Regions from separate parts of the Homo sapiens genome. Here all the other regions are linked to region 5. Evidence: promoter capture Hi-C in human tissues and cell types (Jung and others, 2019). All regions are on one chromosome and are shown on one strand. Each heading gives the region's core, a stretch centred on a gene start or on the middle of the fragment in contact. The rest is flanking DNA. Distances are from core to core; before and after follow the strand shown. Region 1 overlaps PITPNM2 (phosphatidylinositol transfer protein membrane associated 2). Region 2 overlaps MPHOSPH9 (M-phase phosphoprotein 9). Region 3 overlaps SBNO1 (strawberry notch homolog 1). Region 4 holds the start of ZCCHC8 (zinc finger CCHC-type containing 8). Region 5 holds the start of HIP1R (huntingtin interacting protein 1 related).

Region 1 (5,812 bases), core at 1,743-4,242, 270 kb after region 5:
GCTGCTGCTACGGATGGAGATAAGTCCCTTCTTCACCTGGGATGGGACTTCATCCAAGGGGCTGGAGGTGGGGATGGGGGTACAGCATGGGGAGGTGGGGACGTGCCCTGGAAAGTCTGTGTCATTGCTGCTGTGGTCTGAGGCCCTGCCCATGTCATGAGCTCTCTTTCTCCTCAGGAGACAGTGACCTTTTGAGGCCTGTCACAGAGACAATGGCAGGAAGTGCCCCTCCCTGCCTGAGCCACGGGGAGTCCGGAAGGAAGCCACTGCCTGGGCCCAGGACCCTCCCCGCTGAGCTCTTGCCCAAGGGACACTGAAGCTCATGGCAATGCCAGAAGCTCTGCTCACCAATGCCGAATGGCAAACATCTTCAACTGTGAGGGCTAAGGGCAAATATTCTCCTTGGCTGGGACCCTCCTCTTTAAGGCAGACCCCTACTGTGAAAGACAGCCAGGCAGTAGGAGACACAACCCCAGCTACCCCACCCACCACCTGCCACCCCCACCTTCTGGAAGGAAGGGCTCTGGATTCCTCCACAGCAAGGAGCTTTTCTAAAAATAAACCCTGGTCCTTGAGCCCTTTCCTTCCTCAGTCCCTTGTGGAGGAGAGAGGAGAAGGAAAGATCTCGTTCTTAGCGAACCCCAGGGAGTGTGGCCTCCCTCCACCCCATGACTCTCGCTACCAGGGCCCGGTGGTCACTATGCCACAAACTCCCAAGCAGGGTGCAGAGGCATGGAGGGGGCAACCCTAATCATCCTCACATGGGGCCTGCCATTTTCTAGGGGAGGGTTTTGGGAAAAGCAGGTGGTACCAGCTCTCTAGTCCAGGATCTGGGGGGAAAGGATGGCACCCAAAGGCAAGTCTCCCACATTACAAGGTTCCCAGGTCAACAGCAGACACAGACACTTACTGAAATATTTCAGGGAAAATGATGCCAAGAATTCTGAGGTCCAAGCAGTATGCCGTGACAGCACAGAGGGAGGAAGGAGAGGCTAATGCGGACCCAGGCCTTGCAAAGAAATTTAGAGGAAAGGAGCTGTTTGAAATGGGCTTGGAAGGTGAAACAGGAACCTGACAGGTAGAGGTGGGAAGAGGGAATTTCAGGATGCTGGAACTGCATAAGCAAAGCGCAGAGAATGTACCAGCATATAAACTAGACGCGGGCAGGGATGCCTGTCTGTTTTGTTCACAGTGGCGTCTCTGGCAACTGGAATGGTCCCTGGTGCAAACTAAGTAACAATAAATACTTTATGGACAAATGAGTGGAGCAGAACAATTCCTGAAGACATTTTAGGTCTAAGTGAAGACCTTCGGATGAGGTGAGCTGCAAGGCCATGGTCTCTGCAAAGCCACTGCACTCTGGAATGCAGTTGTTAAGAAGGAATAGAACCTCCTTCCTGTAAGAAAGGAGACAGGAGACCAAGGCTGTGTTGAAGCAGCGTCCCTCAGAGCAATGTCAGTGCTCAGGCCATGCAGGGCAGAAGAGCTCTCACCGGGCCCTGCCTCGACTTGGCAGCCAAGACCTTTGGCAACAGGACAACCACGAGGCCCCAACCCCGCAGAACCCGAGTGACCCCTGGAGAAGCTGCAAGTCAGGGCTGAGTGTTACTATGTGCCCTCCCCTACATCCACTCCCAGTAGCTGGGACACCTTGGAAAGTGAATTAAAACAAAACAGAAAAACAAAAAATACAACATAGCACTCTCTCTTCTTAGCACTTGGAGGCCTTTTCACAGCAACTGAAAAGAATGAGCAATTAGAGAAGATAACAGTCCACGGTGCCAGCCTGGAACTACGGAGCCACAGAGGCAACTTAAGAGGCCCCATCACAACGTGCCCTATCTTCCCAGCAAGGATGAGGGCACCCGGAGAAGGGAAGGGACTTACCCGAGATCAGACAGCAAGTAACAGTTGAGCCTGGGCTGAACCAAGGGCCCTGTGAGTCACAGGCCAAATTTGAAAAACCATGCCATGTGCTTCCAGGTCTAGACTCGGGGTCCAATCCCAATCCCACCACTGACTAGCTGTGCAACCTGGAGCTGATATCTGCCATCTCTGAGCCTCGGCTTCCTGTGTAAAAAGGGACCCTAACAGGCACTGCTCATGGTTACTGTGGGACTTAGCCCCATGCAGCAGGGGCTGGGTACATTAAACCTACCCCCACCAGCATCCTCACCTCAGCTTTGCTAGCTTCCCTTGATGGAACATCCATCCTCCGTGCCTCCAAAGCTGAAACTAGCCAATGAGTGAACAGGAGAAGGGTTCATCAACATTTAGGAAAAAAAGAAGGAAAAATCACTTTACCTCCTGTTCCACCCAACAAAGGCCTTGGCATGGAAAATGGGGCCAAGGCCAGGGATTGTGCCTGAGACAAAGAAATACGAAATGGAAAGAAGCTTGGGAGGCCAGGGGCTCCTGCTGCCAGCTGGGGGTGGGAGGGGAGAGACTGCTACTCCCTGGGCCATTCAATCTCTAGACCTGGCACTCCCTGAGACTCAAGACAGAGGCTCAGGCCCACCCTCCACTCAGCCTTGGCTTCTCACTGTACATCCAGAGGGATGGTGCATTAAAAACCACACTCATGCTTGTTTCTGGGCCACTGACCATGACTTGCGGGCAGCTGAGCAAGGCAGCAGCCCAGCCTCTGCTCTCTGCCAAAGCCAGCGAGTAGCCAGAGCCTGAGCTTCCCAGCCAAGGCACAGAAGAAGCATAACTCCTGCCTGTCCTCTTCCATGTACTAAGGGTAGAGCAGGCCAGGCTAAGCCTCAAGAGCAAACAGAAAAGAGCCACTCTGGGGTGCTCTATAAACAGGAGAATAGCAGCCGTTGGGGCCTCAAAGGCTGACCCAAGCAGTTTTTATCCTATTTGGAATCGAAAGCTACCAGAGGCAGAACATCGGTCTTTCGTATTTAGTGAAAAGAAGTCAATATTTGCAAAAGCGTAATCAATAAATACAATCTACCCCACATTAATCAGATAAAGTCAGGTTTATAGTGTCTTTTTAAGAGACGGGGTCTCACTGTGTTACTCAGGCTGGAGTGAAGTAGTGCGACCATGGCTTACTGCAGCCTCGAACTCCTGGGCTCAAGTGATCGTCCTACATCAGCCTCCCCAGTAGCTGGGACTATAGGCATGTGGCACCTCACCCAGTTAATTTTTTTTTTCAGAGATATGCAGTCTCACTATGTTGCCGAGGCTGTCTTGAAATCCTGGCCTCCAGTGATCCTCCTGCCTTAGCCTCCCAAAGTGCTGGGATTACAGGTGTGAGCCACTGCGCCCAACAATAGTCCGGTTTTTAGGGGAAAAGGGAAACAGCAATAAAGTCTCCGTACCCTCAAACTCCAAAGGCCAGGGTGGCCTGCAGGGCCTCAGCTCTGGGAAGTAGGGTGCTACTGCACAGGTGGACGGCCTTACCTGTGGGTCTGAGAAGGCTCCACTGATGTCCCTGTCAAAGGAGGAGAAATGGGTCCCTAGGCTCACAGAAGGTTGTTGAGGACCAGGACACACGTGCCAGCATCCTGCAGGGAGAAGCACAATGGGAGAGGAGGTGAGACACCTGGACTCTGATCACTCCACACCAATCCAACTGGGAGACCCACAATGCCGATGGACCAAGAGGATTGAACAGGGGACATCTGACTAAAGGTGTCTCCATTTTACAAAGGGACCCAGCCCAGGACGATTCAGGAAGCAAGTGTCTAACTCAGAATTGGTGACAGATACACCCCAACATTGCCCGGCACCCCTTCTACTTAGGAAAACTGCTCAGGGAGTGGGAACTGAGACCACCAGCACACACCATAAGCCATCCTATTTTCAAAGGCCCCTGGAGCTCTGTCTCAAACCTTGATTTTTCACTCATGAACCCCACTGGGATTGGAGGACTTCAGACCGCAGAGAGGAGGCTGGAAAATGAGGTAATGCAGGAAGAAGAGTGGGAGACACAGTCCGAGAGGATGGCGTCCTGATGCCGGGACAGGGGCATGGTCATATTGTGGGGTGATGCAAATGGCTTCCAGCCTTCCAGCAAGCCCCTCCAGCTGGGCAGAGTGTGATCTGACTACCCAGAGGCCAGAGACAAGCATTCAAAACAAAATGAAAAAGGTGGAGAAATGGATTTCCAAAGAGTCGCAGGTCCAACAGCCTCAGAGATGACAAAGTCTTCACAGGTACCACTGAAGCCACTACCCAACCCAGGGCTCCTACAGGGACCACAGACAAGCCGGGTAGCCCACCTCGCAGCTCAACACACATTCTTGTTTGCCTGACACACATACAAGCCTCCTGACCCTGGGCCCAGAGAGCAGGTAGCAGCCTACAGGGCTCTCCAATGACCATGACAGAGAGGCTGCTTATCTGCTGGCTATGGAAGCTGGGAGTGTTTCAGGAACTGATGCCCAATTCCAGGGCAACCCTGCTTTAGGAGCTGAGGACAGGCATGGTGGGGGTCTCCTCAGACACCAGTCCATGCCCGCTAGGGGCAAGCACAGCCCTAACAAAGGGAAATGGAATGGTGGCTGGGGATGGCAAAGTTATCAACTGCCAAGTGAACGGCCAGACAGAGGAGGGAGAGTGGAATTGGGGAGGTGTGAAGATAGCTAGCAATACACAGCAGTGGGAGGTGTGGCTGCAGGGAGCGGGCGGCTCTTCCAACCCCGCCACCGCCACCGCGTCCTGCATGCCCACCCCCGTGCAGGCTCCTCTGTGGGACTGAGGCTCCATCGCTGTCCTGCCCCAGCCCCTTGTCTCCACGGCTGCATGTACACACCCACATACACACTCAACCCCCGGAACAGATGAAACAGCCCAGGCACCCACAGCAGAGTGGATGCAGGTCCCAGCCCTCCCAGTGACCATGAGCAAGCTGGCCTTCCAGCCTTGCCTCTACATGCCACCGTAGGCCACAGTTGAGGCCAGCAACTCTGAAGTCTCCCCATGTTCGAGGTGAGGAAAGCTGTTGAGAGGGTTGAGGGTTTGCCATGGTAACGCACCCATCAATGGCGAGCCAGATTTGGTAGACCAGCCCCGCTCCAGCCCACCACAATGCTTCTCGGCGGGTGAGAAGGGCAGTGGTGACTCACACCCCACAGAATTAGATCCACAGGGGCTATGAGAAAAAAGCACTCTCAGAACGCAAAGAGAGGCACTGCAGGGAATTATGTTTCTGACTAAAAGTATTAAAAGTGAAAAAAGTGAATGCAGGGTCAGGCTAAGGAGCCAACCCAGTAGGCAGCTACTTGGGGAACAGACCTCTAGGGGCAGGGGGCTCAAAACATCCCTGGAAAGAAATTAAAATGTGCTGCTGGCTAACTCAGTTTTCCTCCAGTGACCCCTCACATAAATGGTAAACAGTGAATCTGTCCACTGCCCTAAGGGGACATGGAAAGTCACAATAAAACACAATTCCTTGCTGGGGTTTGTTGCATGTAATGTACGTTCCATACACACGTAGTCACAGTCCTGGAGGGGAGCAGGGCATCCAAGACCAAATAATACATCGTGTTGCTGTTTCCCAGGAACAAATGTCATTTCATTCCTTTAAGTTTTAAATCCAAATCTTCAATATACTTTTTTTTTTTTTTTTTTGAGATGGAGTCTTGCTCTGTCACCCAGGCTGGAGTGCAGTGGTGCTATCTCGGCTCACTGCAAGCTCCGCCTCCCGGGTTCACACCATTCTCCTGCCTCAGCCTCCTGAGTAGCTGGGACTACGGCGACTGCCACCACGCCTGGCTAATTTTTTTGTATTTTTAGTAGAGACGGGGTTTCACCATGTTAGCCAGGATGGTCTTTATCTCCTGACCTCGTGATCCGC
Region 2 (5,747 bases), core at 95-2,594, 350 kb after region 5:
GGAACTAAGTCCCATCCATACACTTAAGAGTCTTTCAATAGCTTTTTATACTGCTTCGCTTTAATTTAATTTTTTTTTTTTTTCTTGAGATGGAGTCTTGCTCTGTCGCCCAGGCTGGAGTGCAGTAGCGTGATCTCTACTCACTGCAAGCTCCGCCTCCCGGGTTCACGCCATTCTCCTGCCTCAGTCCCCTGAGTAGCTGGGACTACAGGCATCCGCTACCACGCCCAGCTAATTTTTTTGTATTTTTAGTAGAGACGGGGTTTCACCATGTTAGCAAGGACGGTCTCCATCTCCTGACCTTGTGATCTACCCGCCTCGGCCTCCCAAAGTGCTGGGATTACAGGCATGAGCCACCGTGCCCGGCCTATTTAATTTAATTTTTATCTTTTGAGACAGAGTCTCACTCTGTCACCCAGGCTGGTGTGCAGTGGTGTGATCTCAACTCACTGCAATCTCCACTTCTTGGGTTCAAGCAATTCTCATGCTTCTGCCTCCCGAGTAGCTGGGATTATAGATGTGCACCATCACACCCAGCTAATTTTTGTAGTTTTAGTAGAGACAGGGTTTCACCATGTTGGCCAGGCTGGTCTCAAATTCCTGGCCTCAAGTGATCCACCCGTCTCAGCCTCCCAAAGCACTGAGATTATAGGCGTGAGCCACCACACCCAGCCTAGTGCCTCTTAAATGTGAGCCTGCAAAAGAACCAACACTTGGAAAAAGACATTAAATATGAAAGATACTTCAAATGAAAACAAAAGCTTAACTCAGAATAATGAAAACTACAGAAACAGTCCAATGGAAGCCATAATATTCTCAAAGAAATAACAACATTAGATTCAAAACAGGAATAGAAAGCTATTAAAAATGATCAATCAGAAAAAGAGTTGTTAGAAACTAAAAAAAAAAAAAATATTGTTACAAAATTTCGGCATACCAAGGATAAAAAGATGATCCTAAAAAACTTCCAGAAAGAGAAAAAAAGAACCACATTAGAAAGGAATGAGAAACATGATTACTAAATGCAATGTGGGCCAGGCACATTGGCTCATGCCTGTAATCCCAGCACTTTGGGAGGCCAGTGTGGGAGTATCGCTTGAGCTCAGGAGTTGGAGACCAGCAAGAGCAACATAGTGAGACCGCATCTCTACAAAAAAATAAAATTAGCCAGGTGTGATAGCCTGTAGTGTCTGTAGTCTCAGCAGTCGGAGAGGCTGAGGTAAGAGGATCACTTGAGCCCTGGAGGTTGAGGCTGCAGTGAGCTATGAATATGCCTACTGTACTCCAGCCTGGGTGACAGAGTGAGATCCTGTCTCAAAGAAATGATAACAATAAATGCAATGTGTGATCCTTGATTGGATTCTGGATTAAAAAGCAAAAAACAATACATCTATAAAGGATATTATTTAGACAACTGGCAACATTTGAATATAGACAGAATGTATTTACATATTAGTATTATATCAATGTTAAATTTCCTGAGGATGAAAAGTACATTGAGATTACACAGGAGAGGCCGGGCATGGTGGCTCAAGCCTGTAATCCTTAGCACTTTGGGAGGCCGAGGCGGGTGGATCACGAGGTCAGGAGTTCGAGACCAGCCTGACCAACATGGTGAAACCCCGTTTCTACTAAAAATACAAAAATTAGCTGGGCATGGGGTGGTGTGCGCCTGTAATCTCAGCTACTTGGGAGGCTGAGGCGGGAGCATTGCTTGAACCCGGGAGGCGGAGGTTGTGGTGAGCTGAGATCGTGCCATTGCACTCCAGCCTGGGCAATAAGAGCAAAACTCCGTCTCAAAAAAAAAAAAAAAAAAAAAAAAGAGATTACACAGGAGAATATCTCTGTTCTTCAGAGATACCTATTGAGGTATTTAAGGGTAAATTATCATAGTGTCTAATTTACTCTCAAATATAGTTCAGCAAAAGAAAAAAGTTTATATCTCTATGAAGACAAAGCAATGCTGTAAGATACTCACAACTGGTAAATCTAGGTAAAGAATATACAAGGGTTTTCATTGTATCATTCTTACAATTTTTCTGCAGGCTTGAAACTTTGAAAGCCATGGGAGGGGAGAGAAAGGAAAAGAATTGATCATGTCATAGGCAATAAAACAAAGCCTTCAAATCTGAAGAAAACATACACCCAGAATCACAGTTAGGATCTAGATCTTCATCTTCAGCTAGGACCTAGATCTTCACCCACCACAATTATAGATAATATGTAAAATTTAAGAAATAACAATATCGAGCCAGCCACAGGGGCTCATTCCTGTAATCCCAGCCTTTCATGAGGCTGAGGCAAGTGGATCACTTGAGGTCAGGATTTCGAGGTCAGCCTGGCCAATATGGTGAAATCTCATCTCTACTAAAAATGCAAAAATTAGCTAGGCATGGTGGCACGCGCCTGTAACCCCAGCTACTCAGGAGGCTGAGGCAAGAGAATTGTTTGAACCCAGGAAGTGGAGGTTGCAGTGAGCCAAGATCATGCCACTGCACTCCAGCCTGGGCGACAGAACAAGATTCCATCTCAAAAAGGAAAGAAAGAGGCCAGGCGCAGTGGCTCTCGCCTGTAATCCCAGCACCTTGGGAGGCTGAGGCGGGCAGATCACCTGAGGTCAGGAGTCCGAGACCAGCCATGGCTAACATGGTGAAACCCTGTTTCTACCAAAAATACAAAAAACTAGCCGGGTGTTGTGGTGCTCGCCTATAATCCCAGCTACTTGGTAGGCTGAGGTAGGAGAATCACTTGAACCCAGGAGGCAGAGGCCGCAGTAGCCAAGATTGCGCCATTGCACTCCAGCTTGGGCAATAAAAGCGAAACTCTGTCTCAAAAAAAAAGAACGAACGAACAATATCAGTACATTATTTAGAAATACATAAATACTAGAATATGATATACCTCGAGAAAAAAATGAACAAAGGATGTAAAAGGCCTTAATTTTTAAAAAAGAAAAATACTTGAGATTTAAACCACGTTCATGTATGGGAAGAATCAATATTTCAAGTCTCAGCTGTCTCCAAATAAATCTGTAAATTCAGTGCAATTCCAATCGAAAGCAGAGTGGCATGCTGACAGTAATATTTGTATGAAACAAAACAAAGCCAAGAAATAGGCAAAATAATTTTTACAAGAGCAAAAAAACGAGATAAGGAAATGGCACCAAAAATCAACACTTGTTATAAAATACTAATAATTTACATGATGTGGTTCCAATTCAGAGACAGACCAATGGAACAGCTCAGAGCCTCAAAGGAGATTTACACGAGAAGGAAATAAAATGTACAACAGAAGTCAGTAAGGGAAGGAAAATCTATTTAAAAATGATTCTGGGACAACTGGTTAATCATTGGAGGCAGGGAGGATCAAGTTCAATTCCTACTCATACCATATATTACGTAAGAGGTAATTCTGGGCTGGGCGCCGTGGCTCGCACCTGTAATCCCAACACTTTGGTAGACTGAGGCGGGTGAATCACCTGAGTTCAGGAGTTCAAGACCAGCCTGGCCAACATGGTGAAACTGTCTCTAGTAAAAATACAAAAAGAATTAGTGAGGCATGGTGGTGGGTGCCTGTAATCCCAGCTATTCAGGAGGTTGAGGCAAGAGATTGCTTGAAGCCGGGAGGCAGAGGTTGCAGTGAACCAAGATTGCGCCATTGCACTCCAGCCTGTACAACAAGAGCAAGACTCCATCTCAAAAACAAACAAACAAAAAACACCCAAAACTTGTATCCCATAAAAATACCAAAAGAAGATGGATGCAATACGTATAACCATTTCCTCTTAATCACACTTGAAAAATTAAAAGGCTTGACAATACCAAGCACTGGAAATAATCTAGAAAAATAAGAATTATCATACACTACTGGCAGGAAAATAAACTGGTACAACCATTTCAGAGAGCAATTTAGCAATATCTAAAAAAGATAACAAAGCTCATATTCTATGTCCCAACCACTGCATTCAGAGAAAGAGACTATTATAACAGGCTATATTTCCCAGTAACAGCCACAGCAATATTTCCAGACCCATAAGCTCTTGCAGAACCTTGCTGTGTTCCATTAAGAGATGGTATCCATTTTCCCTCCCCTTGAACCTATGCAGGACTTTGGAATTGTTTAAAAAATAGAATAGAGGCCAGGCACGGTGGCTCACGCCTGTAATCCCAGCACTTTGGGAGGCTGAGGTGGGCGGATCACCTGAGGTCAGGAGATCGAGACCACCCTGGCAAAAACTGTGAAAACCCATCTCTACTAAAATACAAAAAATTAGCCAGGCATGGTGGTGCACACCTGTACTCCCAGCTACATGGTAGGCTAAGGCAGGGGAATCGCTTGAACCTGGGAGGCAGAGGTTGCAGTGAGCCGAGATAGCGCCACTGCACTCCTGCCTGGGCAACAAAAGCAAAACTCCTTCTCAAAAAAATAAAATAAAGAGTAAACATAAAAATAAATAATTAGCCAGGTGTGGTGGCGTATGCCTATAGTCCTAGCTACTCAGAGGGCTGAGGCAGGAAGATCACTTGAGCCCAGAACTTCAAGGCTCCAGTAAGCTATAATCATGCCACTACACTCCAGCTTGAATGACAGAGCAAGACTCTGTCTCAAAAAAATAGAATGTGGTACAAGTGATGCTGTACAGTTTCCAAGGCAAGGTCATAAAAGGCAATGTAAATGTAGCTGTTGGGATGCTCTTTCAGGACTCTTGTCCTTAGTAGTAAGCCATCATGTTGCAAAGAAACCCAACCTAACCACATAGAGAGGAACTGTGGCCTTAGCTGACAGCCACCATTCATGATGGAACATGCCCTTCAGAAGATTCCAGCTCCCAGTCCTTAAGTTTTGAGCTGAGGTCCTAGACACTGCAGAGCAGACAGGCTGTCCCTGCTGGGCCCAGTGCAAGCTCCTGAACAACAGAGTCCACGAACAGAATATGTCAAGATTTGAGGTTATGAGTTTTGGAGCTATGGCAGCTAGAACAATACCCTAGAGGCGCTTGCACACATTGGCATAAGGAGCCACATAGAAGAAATGTTCATAGTAGCATTGCTCCTAACAGCAATGACAAACTGGCAAAAGGAAAGTGGATAAATATACTATGGAAGAGCCACATGATGGACGACACAGGAATAAACAGAAATGAAGTTGTGCTACTACTACATGTATCCAGTTAGGTGAATCTCACAAGTGAAAAAAGTTGCATAACATTAAAGACAGTATTAAGGCCGGGCACGGTGGCTCACCCCTGTAATCCCAGCACTTTGGGAGGCCGAGGCGGGCGGATCACGAGGTCAGGAGATCGAGACCATCCTGGCTAACACGGTGAAACCCCGTCTCTACTAAAAATACCAAAAAAATCAGCCAGGTGTGGTGGCGGGCACCTGTAGTCCCAGCTACTAGGGAGGCTGAGGCAGGAGAATGGCACAAACCCGGGAGGCGGAGCTTGCAGTGAGCCGAGATGGTGCCACTGCACTCCAGCCTGGGCAATGGAGCGAGACTCCATCTCAAAAAAAAAAACAAAAACAAAAATAAGTATTGATAGTATTTATAAAAGTTTCAAGATACGCCAAAGAAGTAACACTAAGGATACATACATACACATGTGACCATACAAAGACAAGGTAATGATATTCACACAATTTAGATCAGTTACTCCCAGGAAGACAGAAGTGATCAGAAAAGGGTGCACAGGGGATGTCAACTGCATTTTGTAGTATTTTATTTCTCTTTTTTTTTTTTTTGAGATG
Region 3 (5,611 bases), core at 2,962-5,461, 460 kb after region 5:
ATCATATCAGTAGTTTGCAAATTCAGTATAAACCATGAACAGGATATTTTTCTGATAGCGGTGAGACTGCAATGTGCTATGTAGAAAAAAAGCTCTCTCTGCCCCATAAAGTGGGAGTCAGAAAGAGGGCTCAAGCTTCTTTATCCTCTTCAGTGCCATAAATACTGTCACAGCAAAAAGGCCTTCAGTGTCTGCTGGCCAGAAACATCTGCCCAGGCACAAATGGGCCACAAGGGCAGGGTACTGGTTAGGGGCCCGCAGTGGAAAAGCCAGACAGGTTCTCACCAGGGGCCTGCAGAGTGGCCTTCACTCTGGAGGACGCCTGAATTACAAGTATCAAAAAGAACCCGCCTTTTTGGGCTTCTTCTTTTCCTTGCTTAGCCCTGCACTAAGGGGCAGTCTTGCTGGACGGTGCCCTGCCACGTTGCGGCAGCCCAGATGGCCGCACTGCCAACCACAGCACGGCTTCCCCATGGGCGCCAGAGGGAGACTGAGCAAGGAGGGTCTGCGTGGAGGATGCACACTGGAGGCAATCTGTGACAGGCCCCAATTCACGACAAATTTAGTTCCCAAGACTGATCCAAATACAGAATGCTTTTACATTTTTCACCAAGTCTACCAAGTTGAATAGTAATGAATGAAACTTGTACATGAATGAAAAGGCCCCAAAGACGCTCACGGCAATCCTTGAAAGTTATAAAGGAACATTTTCTTACAGGTGCAAAATTGTGAACAAATACCCAATGTCTGCCTCCCGGGTGCTCAACACCATCATTTTGATGAACCATCCGGGTCTTCCCAACTCGAATTATTAAAAACGCCTCGATCCCGCTCTGCTTCTAGGCTTACGGCTGATGTAGACAAGATCCACTCACCGATACAAGGGTGGAGAGCACAGCCGTTCAGGGTACCCCAGGGACCAGTGCTGCAATGGGAATCTGCTTGTCTCACCCTCCAGCAGAGTCAGCCTAGGAGGCTCCAGAGCAGTTGCTTGGCTCTCTTTTGGAGGACAATTGTTCCTTAATGTACATTCTCTCTCTTTTTTTTTTTTCGAGACGGAGTCTCGGTCTGTTGCCCAGGCTGGAGTGCAGTGGCGCGATCTGGGCTCACTGCAAGCTCTGCCTCCCAGGTTCATGCCATTCTCCTGCCTCAGCCTCCTGAGTAGCTGGGACTACAGGCACCCGCCACCACGCCTGGCTAAGTTTTTTTTTTTTTTGTATTTTTAGTAGAGACGGGGTTTCACCGTGTTAGCCAGGAGATGGTCTCAATCTCCTGACCTCATGATCCGCCCGCCTCGGCCTCCCAAAGTGCTGGGATTACAGGCGTGAGCCACCGCACCCGGCCAATGTACATTCTCTAAAGTCACCTGTCAATAACACACTAGGCCTGCCTCCTGCCTGCTATAAATATCCTCAACAGGTTATAAACAGCAGCAGGCTACCTGTGTTCATTGCAAGTAAATTACTCATCATTTGTAGGTTAAAAGCATAGGCCCGACTTCTTAAATAAACATAGGGAATTTGCTGCAGCAGCAGGCCAGAAACCACTGTTTCAAATCTGCAAGATTTTCCTATCAGGTGGGAAGACAGAGATAAGAAATATGGTAAGGCCTGAAAAATTGCAAAAGTAGAAGCAAGTCAGGTTTGCTGATCTAAGAGCTAAGTTTGATCCCAAATGCACTGAAGAAGTTAGAGGAGCTTAAAGAAGTCTCAGGAAGCATTTTTTAAAATGTGAAAACATCAGGCTCACTATAGCTTCCAAAGAACAACATAAACGAGCATCAGCAGTCATACAATGACAGTATCAGAAATGGCACTCAAGTGCATCCCCCCAGTACAATGCATTGCACACAACACAATAAGACATAGTAAAAAACATTAACACAAAACAGGAATTCTACAGCAAAGATGCAAAACTGAATTCTAAAATACAGGAACAAATACTTTTCTAAATGAAAAGTTTTCCATACTTTTCTTAAAAAAAAAAAAAAAAAAAAGTCATAAGATGCCCCATATGGGAAAGTCAAGAAAAGAATAAATAGAGCTGAAGGGAAGAGGGAAAAGGGAGAAACAGGTGGGCAGAGTCCCAATTTACAAGAATTATTTACATTCAGAATCCAGAAGAACTCAACATTTCTCTATATATACATTTATGTACATATATATAAATACAGCACAAAATTAGAGGGTGGGTTTTGGATTTTATCTCAAGTACTCAAAAAAAAAATGCTAGCGAGCTTGAGTTGCAGGTATTTAGGTGTGTTTCTGTCACTTAAAAGACACTGCATTTGTATCAGACAACTGGCATTCAATGAGACATTTTTTTTTTTTTTTGCAGTTTTTGCTCTCAGCTGTAGCCCTGACATGAAACGCTTGCTACGTTTCTGCAGCAAAGTGGGCCGAGCGCAGTACGCACAGGTGTGGTGTTAGCCAGGGAGACCGAAGCCACACAGAAGGGGAGTCAGTAAATGTCCATCTCCACGGTGTCTGCCTTTGCCATTGGGAGGCCTGAACTAATCAAACGTTCATTAATAGGATCCCAGCCTAACAGCAACGCTTATGTAGCACCATTCTTAGAAACTACCAAGTATCACACAGGTACATGTGTATGGGGACCTTCCTCTTGACTGCTTGTCAAGAAAAGGATCCAGAGGGAACTTCTGCCCCTACTTCCATGAAGTGAGATGCAACAATCATTTCCAATCTATTTTTTTATCTCATGCTAAAATGAAAGTGGAGGGGAGAGGGAAGAAGGCTCCCATTCTACAATTATAAATGCTGTCCTGGTAGCCTTTCTTCTCTTGCCGGCTAACAATTGTTCTAACAGCATCCCATGGAGGCCAGCAAATGAATGCCCCAGGGACTACAGCCAGAAAATTGTGCCTGTAAAATATCATATTCCTCTGGAGCTTGGTAATATAGAAATTTTACCTCTACAGATGAGGCAAACTAAAATATTGTTGTAACTCAAAAAGGCTTCTGAAGTGCTGAGTTAGAATAAATATATATAGATACATACACACACTACATTGCTTTGGATGCAGGTTCTTACTAATTTATATACACATGTAAAGAGAAGATACTGAAGTGTCTAACTGTAATTTAGCAGCAGAAAAAGAAAACTGCTTAACATATTTGCTTCTTAATCAAGTTGTGTTTAAAGAAATGCATTAATACTCCTATGAATTTGTATCATTGATAGTGTATCTGGATAATCCCAGTAACTACAGACAGAGACCTTGTGGTATGGAGGTTGCTAAATGAGGGGAACACTAATTCCCCCAGAGATAACATCTGAGCTGCTTTAGACTCTGGAAGTGGTTTTCAGTACAATTGACGCTGTAAACTCTGAAAACACGAACATGATTTCCAACCAAATCTTTGTGCTCAGAGCCATATTGCTAAAAAGAAAAAGGCATTGCAGAGGCAAAGTGGACATGGGGTTAATTAAACAAGGCCTCTGAATTCAGGTGTGGCATTTAGATCCTGCAATGAATGGACCTATTTTACAGAAGTCAGCGGCAAATTTTTTGTATTTTTTGGTACAGATGGGGTTTTGCCATGTGGACCAGGCTGGTCTCGAACTCCTGGCCTCAAGTGATGCACCTGCCTTGGCCTCCCGAAGTGCTGGGATTATAGGAGTGAGCCACCACGCCCGGCTACGAGTTGGGTTTTAACAGAAGAGGACCTTGAATGCTGAAGCTTCACAGGGCGGCCAAACTAACTCGCTGATTTTTGCAAGACCACAGTGTAAAGGTCGGATGTCCACCTGAAGAAGGGGTGGGTGCAACTCTCTGGGTGCTGCACACACCATGACCAGCCTGGGCATGCAGCACCCCAGCTCCCATCCATTCACACTGGTTGCCTTTGTGAGGTCCATTTTGAGAGGGCTTTCAGAGGCCTTTTTAATGAGAAAAAAAAATAGCTGTTCTACAAAGAACCTAAGATACATACACTCCTATTTATCAAGATGGCTAGTCCAGAGCAAACATTACATCATAGGCCATGGGGGTTGTCACTTAGCTGCATGCTAAGAATCCTCATATGCTGCTTTGAAAACGCCATAAAAAACTAAGATGCCCTCATACACAGAAAAGAGGAGTTGGGCCAACAGCCTGCGAGAGAAGATCCTTCCCAACTCTGCCATTCTTACTGCAGGAGGGTTTGTAATGCTTCCCCACTTCCTCAGGTCCAGCGACTGCACCTCCACCACTGGAGTGGGGGACACTTCCATTGCTGATGGAAGCTGCCTACTGCTTTTAAAAACACACACATGAGCTGAGAAGTTCTGCTGAAGGTGGGGAGAGTGCTGCTCTTGGCTGCCAGCCGGGTCTAGCGGCCCTAACAAGGGAAACTGGCTGATACAAAATGGATCACTGCCTGAGATATATGAACTGGACTGAGGATAGAAGTTGCATCCGCTGGGCAAAATGTGCCAAAGAACAGAAAGTACTTTCAATTTATTCTTTTAGGCACCAAGAATAAATAAATCCTAAGAAAACTTACGGTAAGCTTGACATAACCAAACTCAGGCTAAAGGAGACACAAGAGGATGAACGCCCTAAGCTTTCAGCCAGGTTTGTCAGTTTTAACACACATCTCACCCAATTCTGCAAGAAGTTTACAAACAATTCAACTTAAAAAACATTCAGAAGTACTATCATTATACCCTTTCCCTCAATGCCATCTTACATTTTAGGGATAAGTTTTAAGCCAAACTATAAGGCTACCTGGAATGCTGAGACAACACACAAATTCTGCTGAGTCCCCGTCACAGACTACTTCTGAAGGTCACCAGTGAGGGCCTAAACAAGAGTCCACTTCTTGTTAGTATAATAACTTTTTATTTGACATCTACAAGATTTTGGCATCTTGCAGCTTTTTACCAGGTTTATACAATCTCGATTTTTCAATAGTGCAACCTGTGGAAGCAAAAAAAAAAAAAAAAAAAAAAAAAAAGAAAAAAAGAAAAGAAAGAAAAAGAAAGAAAAGATAAAAAGACCAACTGTCCCCTCACTTGTTTTTATAAACATCTATTATAGGCGAAACAAAACTTACCCATATTATATAGATAAGTGTCTATTCACATTTGTACATTACCATTTTTAACAGCTTGAGATAAACTCTACGTCTTACAACACATTAAACAATATTCAAGTTACTGAGTAACAACAATAACAACAATAACAAAAGAACACACAGCAGAAGCCTCAAGTGTTTCCTCATTGTCTACAACTCAGGTATGGTTTCCTTTTTATGAGTGACAAAGCAAATTAAGATAATGAAGTAAAAAACGATTGTTTGCAAGATGAAAGCCAATTTGTACTTCCTTCTAAAACTACCTTTAAGTTGCAAATGTAAATTTAAGAGGCTCATAGCCATTTCTGCAGCACACATTAGGAATACTATTAATACATTAAAATTAACTTTTAAGAGTTTTATCACAGAAAAATGTATGTATTCATTACCTTGACCAGAAACCCAGGGCAGGGAGAAGGGGAAGGAGGGGTCTGCAGGGTTTGAAGCAATACCCAGGTATAAACACTATAAAAATGCAATAACCAATGCTGTACATCTAACAAATGTTTCTCTCTGTTACTCGACTCCTGTGT
Region 4 (5,800 bases), core at 1,638-4,137, 330 kb before region 5:
TCTTTTTCAAAAGCACATTACTTTTTCTTCTAAAATGCTGATTCTTTCATTGTTCTATTTATGAACACATTTTAACTATGTAAATAAATCTTCAGCTAGAGTAATACTGTAATCTTTTTTTTTTTTTTTTTCAGACGGAGTTTCGCTCTTGTCACTCTCAGCTCACTGCAACCTCTACCTCCCGGGTTCAAGGGATTTTCCTGCCTTAGCCTCCCAAGTAGCTGGGATTACAGGCGCCCACCACGTCCAGCTTATTTTTGTAATTTTAGTAGAGACAGCGTTTCACCACGTTGCCCAGGCTGCTCTCGAACTGACCTCAGTTGATCCGCCCACCTCGGCCTCCCAAAGTGCTGGGATTACAGGCGTGAGCCACTGCCCCTGGCCCATTATACTATAATTTTTTTTTTTAGGTGCTGGAATTACAGGCATGAGCCACCAGACCCAGCCAATATTGTAATCTTAATTCTAACTTTCTAGAAATGTTTGTTAAATAGGAATAGCTAGGTTAACAACTTGCCTATTCTGAACATTAAGTAAACATTTTCTGGATTTTGTTTCATCCTTTCATCCAATAAATGAGCTTACAATTTTAATCCACTTATGAGAATTCAGACCTTATCCCCACAATTAAATAACTATTACTTTGATTTCTTCAGAGTATGCTAAACAAATAAAAATGATACAAAAATCCCATACACTTTTTACAACGAAATTCTGATTAAATATTAATATCAGGATAAATAATAAGGGACAACTATGGAGTAATTTCAAAAATCTCATACCTCGGTCGAGTCAGAATGTTCAATTTTCGTTTAAGTTCTTGATGTTATTATTTGTTAAGGAAGATAAGCCCTCATTTAACAATGCAAATCATAAAATTCAACTACTACTTCTCTCACTTTTGGTGTCAGAATATTATAAAGACAAAAGACCCACGGATATTTTGAGGATGACACACTTATTGAGCTTCTATTTTGTTGCAGGGGTAGGCTTTTGAAACCCAAAATTAAAGTACGGTTTTTATCCTTTCGAACATATATTCTAAGACACGATCCTGAAGTTCAACAGACTAACAAACTGAACCAAAACCATTATTGAAGCATCAGTGTTCCTGTCAAACCTTTCAACAACCACTATGTGATAAAGAGAATGCAGTATAACGAGCTGTTAACAACTTTAGAATTTGGAATAAATCTATGGATGTCCACTGTAGAATCCTTTCAACTTTTTTTTTTTTTTTTTGAGACACAGTCTCACCCTGTCGCCCAGGCTGGAGTGCAATGGTGTGATCTTGGCTCACTGCAACCTCCGCCTCCCAGGTTCAAGGGATTCTCCTGCCTCAGCCTCCTGAGTAGCTGGGATTACAAGCACGCGCCACCACGCCCGGCTAATTTTGTATTTTTAGTAGAGACGGGGTTTCACCATGTTGGCCAGGCTGACCTCCTGATCCTCATGATCCACCTGATCCTCATGATCCTCCTGACCTCATGATCCACCCGCCTCGGCCTCCCAAAGTGCTGGGATTACAGGCTTGAGCCACAGCGCCCGGCCTCAACTTTTTGTATTCTGAAAATTTTCCTCACAATGTGGAGGAAGACGACATTCTGAAAAAATAAATCGCGCTTCACAAACCTTAAAAACTGATATACTGACTGGGCGCCGTGGCGGGCGCCTGTAATCCCAGCTATTCGGGAGGCTGAGGCAGGAGAATCGCTTGAACCCGGGAGGCGGAGGTTGCAGTGAGCCGAGATCGCGCCACTGCACTCCAGCCTGGGCAACAGACTGAGACTCCATTCCCCGACCCCGTCCCCCTAAAAAAGCTAACATATCAGCCACTTTCAGTTCTCTACAAATTTTAAAAGGAAAACTACCCGAACCAAAGTTATCTATCTACCTATAAAACTCTACGAACGTAAAAAAAAACATACTAGCAAATCAAGAAAAATCTGCAATCTTGTAACTCAAGTCTAACAGAAACTTCTTTGGCGCGTTTTCCTCAAGGCGTTGCAAAGCATCTTCAGCACAGAAGCGAGCTCCGAGTGGAAGAACTCTAAAATTAATCCCCAATTTTAATCAAGCAATTAACCAATTATCTCAGCACACCCGGATTCCTTGAGGCCCCCAACTCTGCATTCTGGGACCACTAGCGTTTGCCCCGGTATAAAAACCGATCCCGCGTCTAAGCAGCCGGTATTTCATCACCTACAACTGTAACATGACGGCACAATTTGAGCGTGGCTGCGAAATATGAAACCTCACCACGACCTCAAACAGAGGGGGGCAATTAAGGGCTTGTGTACAATCTGTCAGGTGAGCAGCCTAAAATAACCCTAAACACGGCACCCGGGTGGGAGGCAGGAGTGGGTCTGGTCAGGAGACGGCCTCCCTGAGGGGAAGAGGTCTGCGCCGAGGCAGCCTGCGCGCCCCGAACCCTAGACTCTCGGTCCGCCGGCGGGTGACAGAAAGCACTTGGAATTCTGGCCCTCCTGGAACTTCCGCCCGCGCCCTCGCCCTCGCCCGGCGCTGCCCCGGCCCCACGCCTGGCGCTGCCCCGGCCCCACACCCGGGTGACAGGGCCCAGCGAGAGGAAAGGATATTCTCGGCGCGGAGCTGCTCGATGGTCTCCTCGCACTGCCGAAGCCGCTCCCGTAGCTCCGCGTCGCCGACCCCATTTTCGTCCTCCTCGTCGCCGTCGTCGTCCTTGAAGCGAGTGTGAACGGGCTTCGGAATCGACTCCTCTGGGTGGTCGAACGGCTCGAAGAGCTCTAGATCGCCAAAATACACCTCTGCGGCCATTTTGGGCTGTGGAAAAGATTCGAGAAGAGGCGGAGCCGGCCACCAGGGCTTGGGGAAGAAGGTTGGAAGGCGGCACCACTCTCTAGAGCTCTGGCCGCACGGAGCCACCCGCTAGGGTTTTCTCCAGACGCAGGCCGCGAAAGCTGCACACGGGGCGGGGCCAGTCGCTAGAGACTACAACTCCCGGAATGCAGCGGGGCCTATCGGGCTTGCGATTGCCCGGAGGACGGCATGCTGGGACGTGTGGTTTCTAAGCGACTGGTACTCATTGTCTGCATTGCATCCTGGGATTGGTGCTTTTTGAAATGTGAAGAAAGCTGGAGTAGGTCAGAATGCGCTAAAGCAATCTGGGGGCAGGGCGGGGTGGCTCACACCTGTAATACCAACTACTCGGGAGGCAGAGGTGGGAGGATCACGTGAGCCCAGGAGTTGGAGACCACCCTGGGCAACAGAGCGAGACCCAGACACTACAAAAAAATATAAAAATTAGCTGGGCGATTGTAGTCCCAAGTACTCGGCAAGCTGAGGCGGGAGGGTTTGAGCCCAAGAGGTCGAGGCTGCATTGAGCCCAGATGGCGCCACTGCACACCAGCCTGGGAGACAAAGCAAGACCCTGTCTCAAAAAGAAAAAGAAAAACAAAAACCAGTATGGGATGTTCCTGTTAGGCAACTAAGGGTGAAAAATCAGAGCACGACGCATAGCTTCTCACAGATTCTGGTGTGCGTGCCACACCAGAGAATAAGGAACTCCATAGCCTGAAAGGGAACTGAATAAAAATAAACATAAAAGAGAATAAGAAACTCCAGCTTTGCTACAGAGATGACTGTTGTAGATTAGTTTATTGAGCTTGCTTCGTTTTTAATGTAAGATTAGCTAGACTCAACTATTTGTCTGTTGAGGCTTTCTGTCATTCAATCACATTATTTACTTACACCTTCGATGGGCCAGGCACTTGTCTAGGACCTGAGTATGGTTACAAGAGTAACCACAATAGAGTAATTCCTCCTCTCACGAAGGCTGTAGTCCACAAAAAGCAACAAAAACCCCATAATTATAAATGTTCCTGTTCTTGGGTCGAGATGGTTGTTGATGGATATTGATCACACAAAGAAATGTGGGCCGGGGGCGGTGGCTCACATCTGCAACCCCAGCACTTTGGGAGGCCGAGGCAGGTGGATCACGAGGTCAGAAATTCAAGACGAGCATGACCAACATGGAGAAACCCTGTCTCTACTAAAAATACAAAAATTAGCCAGGCGTAGTGGCACACGCCTGTAATCCCAGCTACTCAGGAGGTTGAGGAAGGAGAATCGCTTGAACCCGGGAGGCAGAGGTTGCAGTGAGCCGAAATCGTGCCACTGCACTCCAGCTTGGGCGACAGAGCAAGACTCTGTCTCAAAAAAAAAAAAAAAAAAAAAAAGGTGAAAAACACAGGAAGTTATGAATATTTAACAAACACCCTAGTCTGTGGGAGTCAGTAAAGTGAGGAAGTGAGACTTTAAGGATCGGCAAAGTTGGGGGTGGGAGGATGGAAGAGTGTCTTAGGTGTAAGGACCACCATGTTGAGTGAAAAGGCAGAGTGGAGCAAGATGAGGTTGGAACACTGCTAGGTCAGTGCTCAAAGGCCCTTAAGGAAGCCTCTTTCCGTTTACAACATTGGGAAGTCACTTACACATTTTAACATTTTTTTTTTCTTTTTGTGGACAACAGGATCTCCCTATATTGCCCAGGTAGGTCTTGAACTTCTGAGCTAAAGCTATCCTCCTGCCTCTGCCTCCCTAAATACTGGGATTACAGGAATGACCCACTGTGCCTGGCCATTTAAATTTTTTTTTTTTGAAATTTTATTTTTTGAGACAGAGTCTCACTGTGTCACCCAGGCTGGAGTGCAGTGGCATGATCTCGGCTCACTGCAACCTCCGCCTCCCAGGTTTACTTTCACTGAAAAATCTGCATGAGGCCTGGCGTGGTGGCTCACGCCTGTAATCCCAGCACTTTGGGAGGCCCAGGCGGGTGGATCATGAGGTCAGGAGTTCAAGACCAGCCTGGCCAACATGGTGTAACCCGGGAGTTCAAGACCAGCCTAGCTGACATAGTGAAACCCCGTCTCTACGAAAAATACAAAAATTAGCCGGGCGTGGTGGCGGGTGCCTGTAATTCCAATTACTCAGGAGGCTGAGGCAGGAAAATTGCTTGAACCCAGGAGACAAAGGTTGCAGTGAGCTAGGATCATGCAACTGCACTCCAGCCTGGGCAAAAGAGTCTCTCACAAAAAAAAAAAAAAGAAAAAAAGAAAAAAAAATTCTGCATGTAAGTGGACCCTAAAGTTCAAACCCATGTGTTCAAGGGACAACTGTAATTTCATCTTTTAATTATTTGCATTTGGCTACTCAAAAAAGAAATTGAAATAAAATACTTAGGCCAGGCACTGTGGCTTCACACCTGAATCCCAGGTAGCACTTTGGGAGGCTGAGATGATGCAGATCATTTGAGGCCAAGAGTGGGAGACCAGCCTGGCCAACAGCCTGAGAACCCCATCTCAGGTACATTGTCATGGGCCTTTGGTGCCAGCTACTCAGGGGAGTGAGGTGGGAAGATCACTTGGACCAATATACATATACACACATATTTTATTGGACAGTGCTGCTCTAGATGAGCAAAGTACAGGCTGTATCACTCATCATGTATGGTCAGCTCCTAAAATAACTGTAGACACACAGGAAGCTTTTGCGTCCACACTGCCTTAGAAGGTCATGAACATTTTTAATAAGATTGATTTAAAAAGGCAGAGCTTAATTGAAAAATGTTGATGATCACGAAATGAAGGATCCATAGTGTCATTTCCTTAGAAGGCTTAGATTTGTCACTGAAACACGGTGAAAAGCCATTTTGCCATAGAATTTCTGTGCTCTGGGAAAATGAAAGGTTTATTAAAGTACATTAAAAATCTTACAATCTGGCTAGGTGAAGTGGATCACACCTGTAACCCCATCACTTTGGGAG
Region 5 (5,261 bases), core at 1,710-4,209:
TACTTTCAAGGTGGGCGAATTCACTTGAGCCCGGGAATTTGAGACCAGCCTGGACAACTTAGCAAGACTCTGTCTCTACAAAAAAACTTTAAAAATTAGCTGGGCATGGCCAGGCGCAGTGGCTCATGCCTGTAATCCCAGGACTTTGGGAAGCCGAGGTGGGTAGATCACGAGGTCAAGAGATCGAGACCATCCTGGCCAACATGGTGAAACTCTGTCTCTACTAAAAATACAAAAATTAGCTGGGCGTGGTGGCGGGCGCCTGTAGTCCCAGCTACTTGGGAGGCTGAGGCAGGAGAATTGCTTGAACCCGGGAGGCAGAGGTTGCAGTGAGCCAAGATCGTGCCACTGCACTCCAGCCTGGTGGCAGAGTGAGACTCCATCTCAAAAAAAAAAAAAAATTAGCTGGGCATGATAGTGCATCCCTCCAGTTCCAGCTACTTAGAAGGCTGAGGTGGGAGGATCACTTGAGCCCAGGAGGCAGAAATTGCAGTGAGCTATGATTATGCCACTGCATTCCGGCCTGGGTAACGAAGCCAGACCCTGTCTCAAAAAAAATAAATAAATAAAAATAAAGTTGTTGATGCTTTATTTTTTATTTATTTATTTTGAGAGAAGGTTTCACTCTGTTGTCTAGGCTGGAGTGCAGTGGCATGATCTCAGCTTACTGCAACCTCTGCCTTGCAGGCCTAAGTGATCCTCCCACCTCAGCCTCCTGGGTAGCTGGGACTACAGGCACGCCATCACGGCCAGCTAAGTTTTTCGTATTTTTTGGTAGAGATGGGGTTTCACCATGTTGCCCAGAATGGTTTCGAACTCCTGAGCTCAAGTGATCCACCTGCCTCAGCCTCCCAAAGTGCTCGGAATACAGGCGTGAGCCACTGTGCCGAGCCTCATCAACAACTTTAAAGAAGAATAAGTGAGATACTGTTTAACAGATGCTGAGCCTGGTGCCCGGCACAGTAATAGGCTCTGTGATTATTTAAAAAGCCAGTTGCTAATGGGAAGTCTCTGTGGCAGATGTGCTAGACCTACAGGGGCTGTTGCCTGGTTGAAAAGGGATGCTGTATATGCGTGAAGGGTCACAGGAGAACCACTTTTGTTCCGTGTGGAAAAAGGAGTGTGAGAAACAGCTGGAGTACCGCAAAAAGCCCCTTTACTGTGGTCTTTATTAGAGCACAGCTATCAACTAAGTTGACTAAGTTACATATGAAGGGTTTAGCCCAGTGCCTGCCAAATAATAAGCATTCAGTACATATCAGCTATTGTGATTCTACCGTTATTCTGATAAAGAAGCTTTTTAGTGATTGGAATTAGAGAAAACAGGATTAATTTCTCCTTTTGGTGCAGTGACAGGAGAGTCTTGGCAAATGTTATCTTTTGGGGTCAGCTCTAGCTCTTGGGCTGGAGGGTGAGGAATCAGTTAAAGAAAAGGGTCCCTGGCGGGGTGTGGTGGCTCACGCCTGTAATCCCAACACTTTGGGAGGCCGAGGCGGGCGGATCACCTGAGGTCGGGAGTTCGAGACCAGCCTGACCAACACGGAGAAACTCTGTCTCTACTAAAAATACAAAATTAGCCAGGCGTGGTGGCACATGCCTGTAATTCCAGCTATTTGGGAGGCTGAGGCAGGAGAATTGCTTGAACCCAGGAGGCGGAGGTTGCGGTGAGGTGAGATTGTGCCATTGCACTCCAGCCTAGGCAACAAGAGTGAAGCTCGGTTAAAAAAAAAGAAAAGAAAGAAAGAGAAGAAAAGAAAAGAAAGAAAGAAAGAGAAAGAAAGAAGAGAGAGAAAGAGAGAAAAGAAAGAAAAGAAGGAGGAAGGAAAGGAAAGGGAAAGGGAAAGGAAAGGAAAGGAAAGGAAAGGAAAGGGTCTCTGACCTCAGACAGGTTACAGTCTCACTAGGGAGACAAGGGTCAGGATTACGTGGGCGTCATTTTCCTCCTTACAGGCAGGCGGTGCCTCTCCCTTCAAAAGCAAGGGACCTTTATGCATGATTCCACATCTGCATTCCGATAGGAAAGGGAAACAGCAGAAACACAATACCCATCTGAGAGCTACGCTTAGAGAGGACTCTGGGCTTTTATTTATTTTTTTACTTCAGTCTTGTGACCAGTAATTTTAAGGGAAAGCCAATAATAATGTTTTTAAAAAGCCTCACGCCACCCCTGGCGGCATCTCCTCGGTGTACTTTGCTGTTCAGATCCGCCTGCCTTCTGTGCCAGCCTAACAGCGCCCGGCCTCAGCCCCCATTGTCCCTGGAGCTGGCGAGGTGTCCGGTTGCGGAGCCGGCGGCGTCTCTGGAAATGCATCCTGCATCCCCGCATGGATAACAGCTGCAGCTATGTCAGAATTGCACAAAGAGGGGAGAGTGTCATTGTGTGCCTTTTGACACATACATTAAGACCAAAAAGGAAAAAAAGCGTCTATCTGTGCTGCCACCGACCAGACTCATGGAGGCCAGATTTTCTCCAATTAACCAGATCTTGCCCTGGTGCAGACAAGACTTAGTGAGTTCGGAGGAGGGGTGGGGAGAGGGAATTGGCTGGGGTCCCTACCCTGGGTGGAAGGAGGAGGGAGGGGTTCCCCCTCCCCCTTCCCCTACCCTCCCCTCCGGGTTTAGGGAGGGGATTAGAGGTGGGGAGGAGCTGGGGGGGCGTTTGGCCTGTGCCCCAACCTTGTGAGTGAGGTGGGGGTTGGAGGTGTGCGGGGGGCGGGGCGTGTGCCGGGGTCGCCGCGGGATGGGGGGTTGGGGATGTGCGGGGAGAGGCGCGTGTCCCGAGATCGCGGGGGGTGGGGTTGGAGGTGTGCGGGTGGAGGGGCGCGCCCTGGAGTTGGGGGCGGGCGAGGCGTTTGCGGGCGCGGGGGGCGGGTTTGGAGGTGTGCGGGGGAGGGGCGTGCCCTGGAGTTGGGGGCGGGGCGAGGCGGGCTCCTCCCCGGCGGGCGGGCCCGGGCGCGGCGCGGTGGCCTCGCGGTGCCTAGGCTGGGGCTGCCGGACCGTGAGGCTGTGAGTCGCGCGGACGGAGCCGGACAAAAGCGGGCGGCGGCGGCAGGATGAACAGCATCAAGAACGTGCCGGCGCGGGTGCTGAGCCGCAGGCCGGGCCACAGCCTGGAGGCCGAGCGCGAGCAGTTCGACAAGACCCAGGCGAGCGGGCGGCGGGCGGCGGGCGGCGGGCGGCGGCGGGCGGGCGGGCAAGCGGCGTCCCTGACCCCTCACGCGCGAACGGCTGGGGCCCGGGAGGCGCCGGCCAGGGGCGGGGGACGGCGCGGGGGCAGGGCCTGTGTCCGCCCGGGCTCTCCGAGAGCTCCGCTGCCGCCCCCCGCCGGCCTCCGCGGCCCGAGCCGACCGGCGCGCAGGTGAACCGGAAGCCGCGCTCCCCGCTCCCGCCGGGCGCTCGGGCCCAGAGGCGCCGGGGCTGAGGGGGCCGGGGTCAGGGTGTGCGCGGGCCGGGAGCGCCGGAGCTGAGGCGGCGGGGGACGGAGATGGGGCCGGGGTTGGGTGTGCGCGAGCCCAGCGCGCCGGGGGTCGAGGGGGCTGGGGATCCAGGTGCTCCCGGGGCCGGCGCGGCCCGACTGGGGTCCCCGACCTTCCGTGCCGCTCCTTGCCGGCTCCTGCCCCCGTCTCCTACCCCCTGAAACCGATGCCCCCACGGGCAATTTCCTTAAAGGAAATTCCTTAAACTCCCAGCTTCCTTCTCTCGTGAGCGGTTTCCCAGGGCTGCACAGTCTCCTATTATTTGCTGGGTGAAAAGCTTCTCGTATGTCGCCAGACTTGTTTGCCCGAGCGCTGCCCACGTATAAATAGGTGCACACCCCCTCATTAAATACCGGCGCCCGACAGACAGAAACTTCCTGGGGCTCCCTTCCTGCGCCTCCCACGCTTGTAACTCTTCCAGATGATGCCTATCCTGGGAAGGCGTTAGAAATGAAATAAGGGCGCGGGTGTGCGTTTTGTACTTGTGTTTGTGCCGGGGACCCACGATGCAGACGTTGCTGCGTTTCTGGTTTCCTGTTGCTTTTTATTTTACAAACTCTTGAAGTGCTCTCAGGCTTGGGGGATGGGCGGTGGAGGGGGGCATACTTGTTTATTTGCCAAAATAAGTCAACCAAGACTGAAATGGCTGAAAAATTTTACTCTAGAGATAAAGGAAGCCAGAGGACCCCTCCCACTCCTGTCTAAAGCAGGTTGGTGACATTTGCGTTTGTGGCGGCTATTTGCAAGTTCCGTCCCACTTGTCCTTGCAGAGAGCTATGACTTCTGCGGTTGCCTTCACATCTAGTTAGCACACGCACTCTACAACAGCTTTCGTTTTGAAATGAGAGAGAACGCAGGGAGACCTTCTAACCTTTGTGCTTGGGATTGACCCAGAAAGCGATAATAAATCCTGAGGATATCAAGGCTTTAGAAATGCGAAGTGCTGGAACCCAGGTGGCTGCAAATTACCAATTTAGCCTTGTGATCTTCATCACCATCAACTGGTTCAGCCCGGATAGCCCGTCATTTTAAAAAAATTTAAAGTCACCAATACATAATTAATTGTGCCAAGAACTTGTAGATCATAGGGAGAAAACCTGAATTGGCAGACATATCTGGATGTTGTCAGAAACTTTGTTTATTCACTGAGTTTTTTCTCGTGCCTTTGAGGACGTATAAAGAGGTCTGATTGCTACATGGAGGAGATGGGATGTGAAGGACCAACTTCATTGATCTTACTCTTAAATGATAAGAAGTCAAGGGCAACCTTCCTGAGTGTCAAAGAGAGAATCTCTGATACAGGACCACACATTTTAGTGGTTGGTTTGATACACAAGAAGGTGGATTTTTTTTTTTTTTTTTTAAAGACAGAGTCTCTCTCGTTGCCCAGGCTGGAGTGCAATGGCATGATCTCAGCTCGCTGCAACCTCCGCCTCCCGGGTTCAAGTGATTCTCCTGCCTCAGCCTCCCAAGTGGCTGGGACTACAAGCGTGCGCCACCACACCTGGCTAATTTTTGTGTTTGCAGTAGAGAAGGTGTTTCACCATGTTGGACAGGCTGGTCTCGAACTCCTGACCTCAGGCGATCCACCCGCCTCACCTCGGCCTCCCGAGATGTTGGGATTACAGGCACCTCTCCGAAGGTGGATTGTTTTGTTTTGTTTTGCTCTGGTTTTTTCTCAGAGGCTAAGAGGGCCACTAACAATGAATAACTTTGTAATGGGTGAATGTCACAGGTCTTACCTATTCTAGGGCCCCATTTTCTGGAAAGTTGGAGTTTGAGTTC

The links. The method cuts DNA at HindIII sites, captures the fragments that hold promoters and counts their contacts. A contact is called where the count stands out against the background at its distance.
Region 1: a fragment that was not itself captured here is called in contact with the fragment with the promoter of HIP1R in region 5 in 1 of the 25 tissues and cell types used here (heart left ventricle).
Region 2: a contact is called between a fragment that was not itself captured here and the fragment with the promoter of HIP1R in region 5, in 1 of the 25 tissues and cell types used here (spleen).
Region 3: a fragment that was not itself captured here is called in contact with the fragment with the promoter of HIP1R in region 5 in 1 of the 25 tissues and cell types used here (dorsolateral prefrontal cortex).
Region 4: a contact is called between the fragment with the promoter of ZCCHC8 here and the fragment with the promoter of HIP1R in region 5, in 1 of the 25 tissues and cell types used here (dorsolateral prefrontal cortex).

What each region holds. Positions count from the first base shown.
Region 1 is chr12:123,106,971-123,112,782 of GRCh38, forward strand. It overlaps PITPNM2 (phosphatidylinositol transfer protein membrane associated 2), which reads right to left. Exons shown (of 26, transcript NM_020845.3): 2 at 3,415-3,518. Among named protein-coding and RNA genes, the nearest start is that of PITPNM2-AS1, 28 kb to the left of the region's middle. RefSeq lists enhancers at 165-374, 213-953. The HindIII fragment of the contact is 5,617 bases long and covers 185-5,801 here.
Region 2 is chr12:123,184,430-123,190,176 of GRCh38, forward strand. The region is part of intron 13 of MPHOSPH9 (M-phase phosphoprotein 9); the gene reads right to left. Among named protein-coding and RNA genes, the nearest start is that of PITPNM2, 36 kb to the left of the region's middle. The HindIII fragment of the contact is 5,791 bases long and covers 1-4,240 here.
Region 3 is chr12:123,289,704-123,295,314 of GRCh38, forward strand. It overlaps SBNO1 (strawberry notch homolog 1), which reads right to left. Exons shown (of 32, transcript NM_001167856.3): 32 at 1-5,611. Among named protein-coding and RNA genes, the nearest start is that of CDK2AP1, 21 kb to the left of the region's middle. The HindIII fragment of the contact is 4,586 bases long and covers 1,919-5,611 here.
Region 4 is chr12:122,498,045-122,503,844 of GRCh38, forward strand. ZCCHC8 (zinc finger CCHC-type containing 8) reads right to left here and starts at 2,888. Exons shown (of 14, transcript NM_017612.5): 1 at 2,598-2,888; 2 at 783-825. The coding sequence starts at 2,796. It overlaps RSRC2 (arginine and serine rich coiled-coil 2), which reads right to left. Exons shown (of 10, transcript NM_023012.6): 10 at 5,410-5,800. RefSeq lists enhancers at 1,856-2,547, 2,548-3,241, 2,737-2,816, 3,017-3,076, 3,127-3,306 and 1 more and a silencer at 2,447-2,596. The HindIII fragment of the contact is 12,081 bases long and covers 1-5,800 here.
Region 5 is chr12:122,832,498-122,837,758 of GRCh38, forward strand. It overlaps HIP1R (huntingtin interacting protein 1 related), which reads left to right and starts at 2,960. Exons shown (of 32, transcript NM_003959.3): 1 at 2,960-3,146. The coding sequence starts at 3,054. LOC124903040 (a long non-coding RNA gene) reads right to left here and starts at 2,736. Exons shown (of 2, transcript XR_007063501.1): 1 at 2,677-2,736; 2 at 2,058-2,341. RefSeq lists an enhancer at 2,562-2,611 and silencers at 2,862-3,101, 3,272-3,471. The HindIII fragment of the contact is 9,768 bases long and covers 1-5,261 here.